Linked DNA regions of Homo sapiens: region 1 is linked to region 2. The links are contacts of gene promoters, found by promoter capture Hi-C in human tissues and cell types (Jung and others, 2019). All regions are on one chromosome and are shown on one strand. The core of a region is centred on a gene start or on the middle of the fragment in contact, and the rest is flanking DNA. Distances in the headings are between cores, read along the strand shown. Region 1 overlaps KNL1 (kinetochore scaffold 1). Region 2 holds the start of PPP1R14D (protein phosphatase 1 regulatory inhibitor subunit 14D).

What was found. The method cuts DNA at HindIII sites, captures the fragments that hold promoters and counts their contacts. A contact is called where the count stands out against the background at its distance.
Region 1: a contact is called between a fragment that was not itself captured here and the fragment with the promoter of PPP1R14D in region 2, in 3 of the 25 tissues and cell types used here (IMR-90 fibroblasts, adrenal gland and aorta).

Annotation. Positions count from the first base shown.
Region 1 is chr15:40,639,185-40,645,550 of GRCh38, reverse strand. It overlaps KNL1 (kinetochore scaffold 1), which reads right to left. Exons shown (of 26, transcript NM_144508.5): 14 at 4,524-4,639; 15 at 464-554. Among named protein-coding and RNA genes, the nearest start is that of KNL1, 48 kb to the right of the region's middle. The HindIII fragment of the contact is 3,641 bases long and covers 2,532-6,172 here.
Region 2 is chr15:40,826,611-40,833,041 of GRCh38, reverse strand. It overlaps PPP1R14D (protein phosphatase 1 regulatory inhibitor subunit 14D), which reads left to right and starts at 4,334. Exons shown (of 4, transcript NM_017726.8): 1 at 4,334-4,655. The coding sequence starts at 4,401. The HindIII fragment of the contact is 14,686 bases long and covers 1-6,431 here.

The DNA of each region.
Region 1 (6,366 bases), core at 3,103-5,602, 190 kb after region 2:
CATTTGCAAATTTAATTCCATGTAATTGTCTAAGACCAGAAAAAAGATTTCAGTTTTGATTCCTGCCTTTAATTCACTTATTCATATTATAAATTAGAAAATGACAGGCTCTTAGTTAATGAAACTTTTTAATATATTAGGGCACATATAAAATGGGTTGCTTGCTATTTAATCAATTAAAGTAAATCTTTTCTTCGTCTAAATCTAAGTGAAAGGCAAATAGCAAGGAGGGAACTCTAAATAAACTTCAACTATATTTCATATATTAAATTGATCATCTCAGGTTTGAAAAGATTATATATTAACAATTGTGTGTAATTAAATAAGACCTTGGTACCACATTACACTTAAAAAATAAGTTAAATAACTCATCACTATGACCAAGTAACAGTTACTCATTTCACAATAAACATCGTTCAGAATGTCTTCACTGATTCTCATTCAGAAAATGAGACAAAAGTACCTCTTTGTCAGAGCAGTGTCTCATTTTTTCCCACAGGTTCTTATTTATATCAACCAACAGCTTATCTTGGTTCGATGCAGAAAGCTTTAATCTAAAATACGGAAAAGTTAATTAGCACTGTAGGGAAAAGAAAGAGATCAGACTGTTACTGTGTCTATGTAGAAAGGAAAGACGTAAGAGACTCCATTTGGAAAAAGACCTGTACTTTGAACAACTGTTTTGCTGAGATGTTGTTAATTTGTAGCTTTGCCCCAACCACTTTGCCCCAGCCACTTTGACCCAACCTGAAGCTCACAAAAACATGTGTTGTATGAAATCAAAGTTTAAGGGATCTAGGGCTGTGCAGGACGTGCCTTGTTGACAAAATGTTTACAAGCAGTATACTTGGTAAAAGTCATCGCTATTCTCTAGTCTCAATAAACCAGGGGCACAATGCACTGCGGAAAGCCGCAGGGACCTCTGCCCTTGAAAGCGGGGTATTGTCCAAGGTTTCTCCCCATGTGATAGTCTGAAATATGGCCTCGTGGGATGAGAAAGACCTGACTGTCCCCCAGCCCGACACCCGTAAATGGTCTGTGCTGAGGTGGATTAGTAAAAGACGAAAGCCTCTTGCAGTTGAGATAGAGGAAGGCCACTGTCTCCTGCCTGCCCATGGGAACTGAATGTCTTTGTATAAAACTCGATTGTACATTTGTTCGATTCTGAGATAGGAGAAAAACCGCCCTATGGTGGGAGGCGAGACATGTTTGCAGCAATGCTGCCTTGTTATTCTTTACTCCACTGAGATGTTTGAGTGGAGAGAAACATAAATCTGGCTTAGGTGTACATCCAGTCACCATACCTTCTCTTAAACTTAACTATGACGTAGATTCTATTGCTTACATGTTTTTGTCCTTATTATCACCCTGCTCTCCTACTACATTCCTTCTTGCTGAAATAATGAAGATAATAATCAATAAAAACTGAGGGAACTCAGAGACCGGTGCCAGTGCAGGTCCTTGGTATGCTGAGAGCCGGTCCCCTGGGCCCACTGTTGTTTCTCTATACTTTGTCTCTGTGTCTTATTTCTTTTCTCAGTCTCTCGTCCCATCCGACTAGAAATACCCACAAGTGTGGAGGGGCAGGCCACCTCTTCAAGCGTAGGGTTCAGAAGCCAGCTTGAATGAACCAGCTCAGGTCTACAATCATGTTTAATTTAACTCTTCCTAGTTTTTTTCTACATAATAAGAGGGGAATTCATTCAAGAAAAGCCTGATTATTCACTTGAAGAATAGTAGTTCAAGAATGTCATACATCAAAAAAACTTCTATCACTAACAGAATTCTCATCTCAACGTACCAACTTGTTCCAATGTGAAACATTTCGCTTATAAAGAATCCTAAGGTCTGTCAATGATCGCTGCTATAAAGTTGTAGCTATTATTATTTTATTTTTTTGAGACGGAGTCTCACCCTGTTGCCAGGCTGCCAGGCTGGAGTGCAGTGGCGCAATCTTGGCTCACTGCAATCTCCACCTTCTGGGTTCAAGCAATTCTCTTGCCTTAGCCTCCCGAGTAGCTAGGACTACAGGCGCGTGCCACCACGCCCAGCTAATTTTTTTATGTATTATTTTAATAAAAGTTCCCGGCCAGGCGCGGTGGTTCACGCCTGTAATCCCAGGACTTTGGGAGGCTAAGGCAGGTGGATCACGGGGGTCAGGAGATCGAGACCATCCTGGCTAATACGGTGAAACCTCGTCTCTATTAAAAATAGAAAAAATTAGCCAGGCATGGTGGCGGGTGCCTGTAGTAGTAGAGGTTGAGGCAGGAGAATGGCGTCAACCCAGGAGGCAGAGTTCTCAGTAAGCCGAGATCGCGCCTGGGTGACAGAGTGAGGCTCTGTCTCAAAAATAAAAATAAAAAATAAAATAAAAGTTTCCAATTCAGTTCAAAGGCATATTTCACATTTTTAGAATAGCATCTATAAAAGCAGCAAAGTTATGATAGTCTCAATATATATTAGTCTTTTGTTAATAAATGGAGAAAATAAATTTCTAACAGAGATAGAATATCTCTTGTAGAGGATATATGCAGGCATACAGATGCAAAATCAAACAGTAAAGCACAACTAAACCTACCGCTCATTGAGTGTAAGATCCCGTTTCATTCAAAATAAACATTCTCAGCTGGTGTGGTGGTTCACGCCTGTAATCCCAGCACTTTGGGAGGCCGAGGTGGGTAGATCACTTGAGGTCAGGAGTTCAGGACCAGCCTGGCCAACATGGTGAAACCCCATCTCTACTAAAAATACAAAAATTAGCCTGGCATGTTGGTGGGCACCTGTAATCCCAGCTACCCAGGAGGCTGAGGCAAGAGAATCGCTTGAACCCAGGATGCAGCGCTTGCAGTGAGCCGAGATGGCGCTACTGCACTCCAGCCTGGGCAACAGAGCGAGACTCTGTCTCATTAAAATAAACAAAGAAACAAACAAACAAACATTCTCAGGGAAATCCTGACACAGCCAACTCTTTCCAACAACATGAAGATACAAAATTTGCCAGTTTTGTTCAGCGATGAACCCCAGTGCATAGTATAGTACCTGGCAGATGTAGGTGCTCAATAAATATTTGTTAAATGAACAGAATCAGGAAAATCTGAAATATCTTAAATTTCTGATTTTAAAACTACGTAATTCTTTTTTTTTTTTTTGAGACAGAGTCTCGCTCTTTGGCCCAAGCTGCTGGAGTGCAGTGGTGCGATCTCAGCTCACTGCAAGCTCCACCTCCTGGGTTCGCGCCATTCTCCCGCCTCAGCCTCCCGAGTAGCTGGGACTACAAGTGCCTGCTACCGCGCCCGGCTAATTTTTCGTATTTTTAGTAGCGACGGGGTTTCACTGTGTTAGCCAGGATGGTCTCGATCTCCTGACCTCGTGATCCACCTGCCTCAGCCTCCCAAAGTGCTGGGATTACAGGCGTGAGCCACTGCGCCCAGCCAAAACTACATAATTCTTTTGAAAAATTTTTAATATTCTTTTCCTTCTACTTCTAAAACCCAGATAATTCTTAAAGACTATTTTATTTCTTTTCTGTTAGATTGGTTCAAATTTAGTTGGATAGTCCCAGATAAGTATGACATAAACATTACTTTGAGTTTTAAAGTCTGATTTACCTAAGGGAATCTAGATGTATCTAATTTGTAAATCAGTCTGCAGTATTTACGTATACCATAGCAATGAGCTATCTTCTACGTAAAACCATGTTCTTTTATATATGTAAACAAGCGTAAATGTGGTAAAATTATAAACTCAAAGGCAATCTGATTTCAGGCACTATATATAGATTGAGTATCCCTTATCTGAAATGCTTGGGACCAGAAGTGTTTTGGATTTTGGACTATTTGGATATAAGAGATACCTTGCGGGTGAAACCCAAGCCTAAACGTGAAATTCATTTATGTTTCATATATACCTTGTACACATAGTTTGAGGGTAATTTTATACAATATTTTAAACAATTTTGTGCATGAAACAAAGTTTGTGTAAAGTACTTACGTATTTATGTGTGGAATTTTCCACTTGCATCATGTTGGTGGCTAAAACATTTTGGATTTTGGAGCATTTCAGATTTCCGATTTCCAGATTAAGGTTACTCAACTTGCGTAAATCTCTAAAGGATATTTTCTTTTGAAGGTGTTCTCTAGCAATCAACTTATGATATCATAATCTAAAAATTACTGTTTATTCTTATTAAGGACCTACCTTTTCCTAAGAATGGTATGAAAACAATTTATATACGCCATTTCTATTGTTCATATCTATTGGCTGAGTAGGTTTTATTATCCTCACTTTAAGGATTTGGAAATGAAGGTTAAATGACTTACCCAAGGTTACACAGCTAGTGTTGAAGCCAAGACTGAGCTTCAATCTGACTACGAGGCCAAAGCTCTTTCTCCCACATCACACTGCCAATTAATGCCATCAATTTTACCCCATGCCAGCATTATTCTAATCAAAACCTTACCACACAAACTATTAACTGATCCCTCCCCTCAAAAAAACACACATAAAAATTAAAGCTTTCATACTCTTCAATCTTTTGGCGACGAGCCTCACAATCTTCTCTATAAATCTGTATCTTGGGTCGGTAAACATATTGACTTAACATCAGGTCTTCTGGAGTAGGTGGTGTGTTTACAGTAAACTGGAAAAAAAAATTCAGTCCCTGAGAACTGGTATCTTGCAGACAAAACCATATATAAGAATTAACTCAAATTTCAGAGTGCCTATTTTAAAATGTTCTACAAAGAAAAATTTGAATACTCAAGTTCATAATGCCAGTAAACAAAAAATTGGAATCTGAATTCAAGTCTCTGACTTCTAAGTCCCTTTCCCCATAGATTTTACTGGAACTGTGGTTGTTCTTACTCACATGGGAATGACAGTAGTTTGAAAATGGCTATGCGTTAAGAAAATAAATATTACCTAAAAATTCAACTTACCAGGAACCCCTTTTTAATTTTTTTTTTTAAGCCAGTTTCCTAGTAACTATTCCCATTTTCTAGCCATAATCCTTACTCTATCCCAGGCTGAACTCAAACTTTTCTGGCACATCCTCCAATTATAAAATAAGGCAGTGAAAATTTGGTTATTTAAAAATGTTTTATAGAACTAATCCAATGGCTTTGATGTCCTTGATGCAGTATTGAAAAAATCAAGTCAGGGCCGGGCACAGTGGATCACACCTGTAATCCCAGCACTTTGGGAGGTGGCAGGCAGATCACTTGAGGTCAGGAGTTTGAGACCAGCCTGGCCAATAGGTGAAACCCTGTCTCTATTAAAAATTCAAAAATTAGCTGGGCATGGTGGCGCACACCTGTAGTCCCAGCTACTCCAGAAGCTGAAGCAGGAGAATTACTTGAGCCCAGGAGGTGTAGGCTGCAGTGAGCCGAGATTGCGCCACTGCACTCCAGCCTGGGCAACAGAGCAGGACTCCGTCTCAAAAAAAAAAAAAAAAGAAAAGAAAAAAAGAAAAAAAAGAAAAGAAAAGAAAAAAATCAAGTCAGCTCCTTATTTACAAAAATCAAACAAAACCCTACAACTGAATCTCCAACTCCTAGGCTCAAGCGATCTTCCTGCCTCATCCTCTCCAGTAGCTAGTACTACAGATGTGTCACCACGCCTGGCTAATTTTAAAATTTTTTGTAGAGATGGGGTCTTGCTATGTTGCCCCGGATAGTTTCGAATTCCTGGCCTCAAGTGATTCTCCTGCCTCAACCTCCCAAAGCACTGGGATTATAGATGTGAGCCACTGTCTCCAGCTATGACTAGCCTTTTTTTTTTTGAGATGGGGTCTAGCTGTCACCTAGGCTGCAATGTAATGGTGTGATCACGGCTCACTGCAGCCTCAGCCTCCCAGGATCAAGCAGTCCCCCAACCTCAGCCTGCCAATTAGCTGGGACTACAGGTGCATGTGAGCCACCATGCTTGGCTAATTAAAAAAAATTTTTTTTTTCCTTTTTTTTTTTTTGAGATGAAGTTTTGCTCTTGTTGCCCAGGCTGGAGTGAAGTGGCGTGATCTCAGCTCATTGCAACCTCCACCTCGTGGCTTCAAGCGATTCTCCTGCCTCAGCCTCCACAGTAGCTGGGATTACAGGTGTGTGCCACCACGCCCGGCTACTTTTGTATCTTTAGTAGATATGGGGTTTCACCATGTTGGCCAGGCTGGTCTCGAACTCCTGGCCTCAGGTGATCTGCCCACCTCGGCTTCCCAAAGTGCTGGGATTACAGACATGAGCCATCGTGCCCGGCCAAAATTTTTTTTTTTAGTTATGGGGTTTTGCTACGTTGCCCAGGCTGGTCTCAAACTCCCAGATCAAGTGATCCTCTTCCTCTGGTCTCCCAAAGTGCTGGGATTATGAGCATGAGCCA
Region 2 (6,431 bases), core at 3,085-5,584:
GGAGGAGATGTGGGTCAGTGCTAAGTTGGAAGGATATAATAAGGAGCCTCTTGCTATAAATAATGGACATCACTCATTAGTGTGCCATCAAGCTTCATGGTATCCATGCTGTGTGCTCATATAGAATCTTATCAACCCCCAGTTTACGAATGAAACATGTTTTTTTTTTGTTTGCTTTGTTTTTCGTTTTTTGGTGGTTTTTTTTTTTTTGAGATGGAGTTTTGCTCTTGTTGCCCAAGCTGGAGTGCAATGGCGCGATCTCGGCTCACCGCAACCTCCGCCTCCCAGGTTCAAGCGATTCTCCTGCCTCAGCCTCCCTAGTAGCTGGGATTACAGGCATGTGCCACCACGCCCGGCTAATTTTGTATTTTTAGTAGAGACGGGGTTTCTCCATGTTGGTGAGGCTGGTCTCGAACTCCTGACTTCAGGTGATCCGCCCGACTCAGCCTCCCAAAGTGCAGGGATTACAGGCATGAGCCACCGCGCCCGGCCTGAAACATGTTCACAGAGGCTGCATGTATGCATCTGTCTGTCCCTGTGTAGGCTTTCATAAAGTTTGCATGTTTGTGTGTCCCCAGCCCATTACCAGTCAATATCTGTTAAACGTTACCTCCTAAATAGCTGTCCAATTTGCCTGCTTCTTGCCATTGACAGCACTACCTCCCCTACTAGCTTTACTGCAATGGCCTTCCAACTGGCCTCCACCAGCCCTTCTGTGCCCTCTGATTGTCTTTCTGTGCAACAGCCACGGTGATTGTTTGGAAGTTTAAATCTGAACATGTCAACTTGCCCAAGCACCATTGCTTAAGACTCTTCAGTGCCTGCCCAATGCCCTTAAGATGGAGACAAAATTCCTCAACGTGGCTTACAGGGCCCTGCCTGGGTACCTCAACCCTTTCTCCTGCCTCACTTTTCCCTCTCTCCTCCCTCTGTTCCAGCCCCATTGACCCTCTTAGTCCCTTGTACTCACCATCTCCCTTCTGCCACAGGGCCTTTGCATGTCCTCTGCATTCTGCCAGGCCCATCCCTGCTGGCTCCTAGGCCAGTTTAACTTCTACTCATCTGTCAGAACTCAGTCCAGATGTTATCACTTTCCAGGTTACACCTCCATTAGACATTCATATAGCACCTCCTACTTTTCTTCAAATCACTAAATGAAATTGCAATTTTACATTTATTTGATGAGTTGATTATTGTTTGTTTATTTTCACACTAGACTATAAGTTCCTTCCATGAAGGCAGGGACTGTGTCTCTTTTGTTCTTCTTTGTTTGTTTTTTGTTTTGTTTGTTTTTTGTTGTTATTGTTGTTGTTGTTATTTTTTGGGGTTTTTTTGAGACAGAGTTTCGCTCTTGTTGCCCAGGCTGGAGTGCAATGGCACGATCTCAGCTCACTGCAACCTCCGTCTCCTGGGTTCAAGCAATTCTCTTGCCTCAGCCTCCCAAGTAGCTGGGATTACAGGCACCCACCACCACGCCTGGCTAACTTTTTGTATTTTTAGCAGAGATGAGGTTTCACCATGTTGACCAGGCTGGTCTGAAACTCCTGACCTCAGGTGATCCACCCACCTCAGCCTCCCAAACTGTTGGGATTACAGGTGTGAGCCACCGTGCCTGCCCTTTGTTTAGTTTTTACAGAGACAAGGTCTCACTATGTTGATCAGGCTGGTCTTGAACTCCTGACTTCAAGCAATCTTCTCGCCTCAGCCTCCCAAAGTGCTGGGATCACAGGTGTGACCCACCGTGCCCATCCTGTGGCTCTTGAATAACCACTGAGCATAATGTTTGGCCTACCAGGGGAGCTCATAAAATCTTTGTTAAATGAGTGAGTAAATAAATGAACAAAACACAGTGACTCTTCTCATCTAGTTTCTTTTCCCGAAAGGGCTCTCAAACCCTTCAGAAGATAGGAAACAGAAGAGGCAGGGAACTACCATAATAATGCCTCCTGGCCACAGACTGTTAAAGTGACAGCTGAGTCAACAAGATGCATCCTAGAGGCCCCCCTCCTCCTGCTCAGGAAGAGAGCCACACTGATGAAAGCCCAGGCATTGACCACCAGAGCCTCGCCAGGAGGGCAGGGAGAGTGGGGAGGTAAATAAAGGACAGGAATGAATGTCTACTGACAGGGACTCTGTTTCAGATGCCATGCTAAATGTTTACATGCATCATCTCATTTTATCTTCCCAACAAGCCCAATCTGCAGATGTGAAAACAGGCTATGAAACTTGGCCAAGGATTATAAAACCAATGCAGGGCAAAGCTGAGTTGAACTCAGATTGTCAGCCTTCCTCCAAAGCCTGGGCTTTTCCTGGCTGCCATCTTAGTTTCCAGCCACTCAAACACCTCCCTTATCTTCTTAAGTGAGGGCCTAAAATTTCATCATTAAACTGTCATCCATTCGCCTTTTTCCTTTTTTGAGACAGGGTCTTGCTCTGTCACCCATGCTTAAGTGCAGTGTTGCCATTGTAGCTCACTGTAGCCTTGAACTCCTGGGCTGAAGTGATTTTCCCACCTTCCAAGCAGCTAGGATGACAGGTGTGCACCACCATATCTGAGTAATCTTGCTTTTCATTTTTTACTTTTTTTTTTTTTTTTTTTTTGAGACGGGGTCTTGCTCTGTCACCCAGGCTGGAGTGCAGTGGCATGATCTCGGCTCACTGCAACCTCCGCCTCCTGGGCCCAGGCGATTCTCCTCCCTCAGCCTCCTGAATAGTTGGGGCTACAGACGTGTGCCACCACGCCCGGCTAATTTTTGTATTTTTAGTAGAGACAGGGTTTTGCCATGTTGGCCAGGCTGATCTCAAACTCCTGACCTCAAGTCATCTGTCCACCTCAGCCTCCCAAAGTGCTGGGATTACAGGCATGAGCCACCGTGCCTGGCCCATTGTTTACATTTTTTAATGGAGACAAGATCTCACTGTGTTGCCCGGACTGGTCTTGAACTACTGGCCTCAAGCAATCTTCCCGCCTGGGTCTCCCAAAGCAGCTAATTTTTTGTATTATTATTATTTTTTTTTTTGGTAGAGAGAGAATTTCACCATTTTGCCCAGGCTGGTCTTGAACTCCTGAGCTCAAGCAATCCACGCGCCTCGGCCTCCCAGAGTGCTGGGATTACAGGCGTGAGCCACCATGCCTGGCCCCATTTTAAAAAAATTACAGGCTGGGCACGGTGGCTCACTCCAGTAATCCCACCACTTTGGGAGGCCGAGGCGGGTGGATCATGAGGTCAGGCATTTGAGACCAGCCTGGGCAACATAGTGAAACCTCGTCTCTACTAAAAATACAAAAAATTATCCGGGCATGGTGGTGGGCGCCTGTAATCCCAGCTTCTTGGGAGGCTGAGGCAGGAGAATTGCTTGAACTTGGGAGGCGGATGTTGCAGTGAGCCAAGATCGCAGCATTGCCCCCCAGCCTGGGTGACAGTGCGAGACTCCATCTCAAAAAAAAAAAAAAAAAAATTACAGTGTTCTTCTGTCACTTTTTTTTTTTAAAGTTTAGAAATTTTCATTATAAAAGACTAAACAAAAATACCCTGCCTTAGAATGCAAGTATGTATGCCTGGAAGTATTAGTCCCTGACACCTGTGTATAAGTTAGGTTTGCAGGTTTCCTCTGTGTCAGCAAATACATGAATCGGGGGAGGGTCACGTGGTAATAAACATGGCTTCCTAAGCAGTTGCCTCAGGGGAGCGGGCATAGTAGACAAGTCTTGATAAATTTGCCTTTACAAGCAGGTAAACTGCCTTTATAGGCCAGGCTGATAGCAGTTTACATTCGGACACACCCAGACACTGGGGGCACTGGTCCTACGGGAGCCATCAATAACTGACCTCCAACTCTATCTACCAGCTGGGGCTCTGCCCCCAGTAGTGCTACGCTCTGAGTAAGAATCCCTGCCAGCCAGGGACCCTGCTTCTGCGGAATCTGACCACAGCTTCTCAGAGCCCAGAGTGGATCCAGCCCCAGGAAGGTGGGATACAGAGGGATCTCAGGTGAGAACGACTCAGGTCCCATTCCAGAGCTGGCCATAGAGCAGCGATTGGAGCCCTGTACCCTTCAGGACCCCAGGGCCCCTTCCTCCTCCCTGGGCATGGCAGCCTCTTGACCTTTGCTCATCTGCAGTTTATGCCACTTTGGGCCCTAGAAGCTGCAGAAAGGGAGGCTGGGGCATGGCTCTGGAGTGCCACTCACTGGCTGGCAGTGAGGAGCCAGGAGACTGGCATTCCCAGCACCAAAGTCCTATTGATCTTTGCCCTTGCCCCTCCCTGGGAGCCTTGGCCCTCCTCCTGCCTTCATTTCTTCTCTGCTGGCCTCTCCTGTTCTCTGTCTCCTCACTTCCCTCTGTGGCTCTGCTCAGAACTGGCGGTTTTTCCCAGCTCCTTGCCCAGACCAATACTTCCATGCTGTCTTCAAGCCCTGCTTCCTGCACATCTCCCAGCCCAGATGGGGAGAACCCATGTAAGAAGGTCCACTGGGCTTCTGGGAGGAGAAGGACATCATCCACAGACTCAGAGTCCAAGTCCCACCCGGACTCCTCCAAGATACCCAGGTCCCGGAGACCCAGCCGCCTGACAGTGAAGTATGACCGGGGCCAGCTCCAGCGCTGGCTGGAGATGGAGCAATGGGTGGATGCTCAAGTTCAGGAGCTCTTCCAGGTAGGTAGCACAGCGGATAGTGGGAGGAGATGGGGGCCTGGGGTCCACCCAGGGCACTGAGACCTTCACAGGAGCTGGAGGGCTGATGTGAGGTGCTTCCGTGAAGAGAAAGCTTTTGTAACTGATGAAAGAAAGAAGCATCGGTTTGAAGTCCAGAAGTCTGCCTCCCTCTAGGCTTGTCTGTGCCTCTAATGCTCTTTGTGATCTGGGGAAGGTCTTTTAACATCCCTAATCTATAATAGGGCTGTTAGTGCCTGTCATATCTCCTTTATAGGACTTTCTGAGGCTCAAATGAGACAATAGAAGGGAAAATGCTTGGTCACACTATGTTTCAAAATTTTATATCTTTATTTACTCCCATGTTCAATGCACATACATGTCCGGAGCTACATTTTCGTTTCTTTTCTTTTTCTTTGTTTCTTTCTTTCTTTCTTTCTTTTGTTTTTTGTTTGTTTGTTTGTTTTTGAGACAAAGTCTTGCCCTGTTGCACAGGCTGGAATGCAGTAGTGCAATCTCAGCTCACTGCTCTGCCTGCTGGGTTCAAGCCATCCTCCCACTTCAGCCTCCTGAGTAGCTGGGACTACAGGTGCGCACCACCACGCCTGGCAAATTTTTTTGTATTTTTTTTTGTAGAGACGGCTTTTCACCATGTTGCCCAGGCTGGTCTTGAACTCCTTGGCTCAAACAGTCTGCCTGCCTCGGCCTCTCAAAGTGCTGGGATTACAGGTGTGCACCACCATGCCCAGCCTAGAGCTACATTTTCCAATTCTGTAGCCATCAGCCATGTGTAGCTGTTTGACTTTAAATGAGTTATAATTAAATAAAATTATTCAGTTCCCCAGTCACATGGGCCACATTTCTTTTTTCTTTTGCCTTTTTTTGAGACAGTCTTACTCTGTAAACCAGCCTGGAGTGCAATGCCGTGATTTTGGCTCACTGCAACCTCCGCCTCCCAAGTTCAAGCGATTCTCCTGCCTCAGCCTCCCGAGTAGCTGGGATTACAGGCATGCGCCACTGTGCCCGACTAATTTTGTATTTTTAGTAGAGACGGGGTTTCTCCATGTTGGTCAGGCTGGTCTCGAACTCTCGACCTCAGGTGATCTGCCCACCTCAGCCTCCCAAAGTGCTGGGATTACAGGCGTGAGCCACCGCACCCAGCCAACATGGGCCACATCTCAAGTGTTAAATAGCCCCATGTGGCTAGTGACTACTATGTTGTCAGCACAAATATAGAATATTTTCGTTATTTCAGAATGGACAGTGCGGGACTAGAATGTTAAGAGTAACCAAAGTTGAGTGCCAATACCAGGACCTAAGCAATCTTTGACCCTGGCTCTGACTAACACTCTTCAACCCCACTCTGGGAAAAGGACAGGTCTTGGTCCCTGGTTACTGGAAACGGCACTTTCTTACTTATATACCTTTAAACCTGGATTCTAGAGAGGTAAGAACTGCTGTTCCAGCAATAAGAATAACATTCTGAACACAACTACGTGCTAGGCTCAATGCCAGGCACTGACATGCATTCTTTCATTTAATCCTTCCCACAACTCCATTAAGCAAGTACTGTTTTTCTTTTTTTATAGAGATGAGATCTTGCTATGTTGCCTAGGTTGGTCTTGAACTCCTGGGCTCGAACGATCCTCCAATCTTGGCTTCTCAAAATGCTGGGATTACAGGTGTGAGCCACCATGCCTGGCCAGCAGGTACTGCTTTACAGCTGAGGGAATGGAGGTTTACAGATGTTGAGTAACTTGCCCAAGGTCACACAACTAG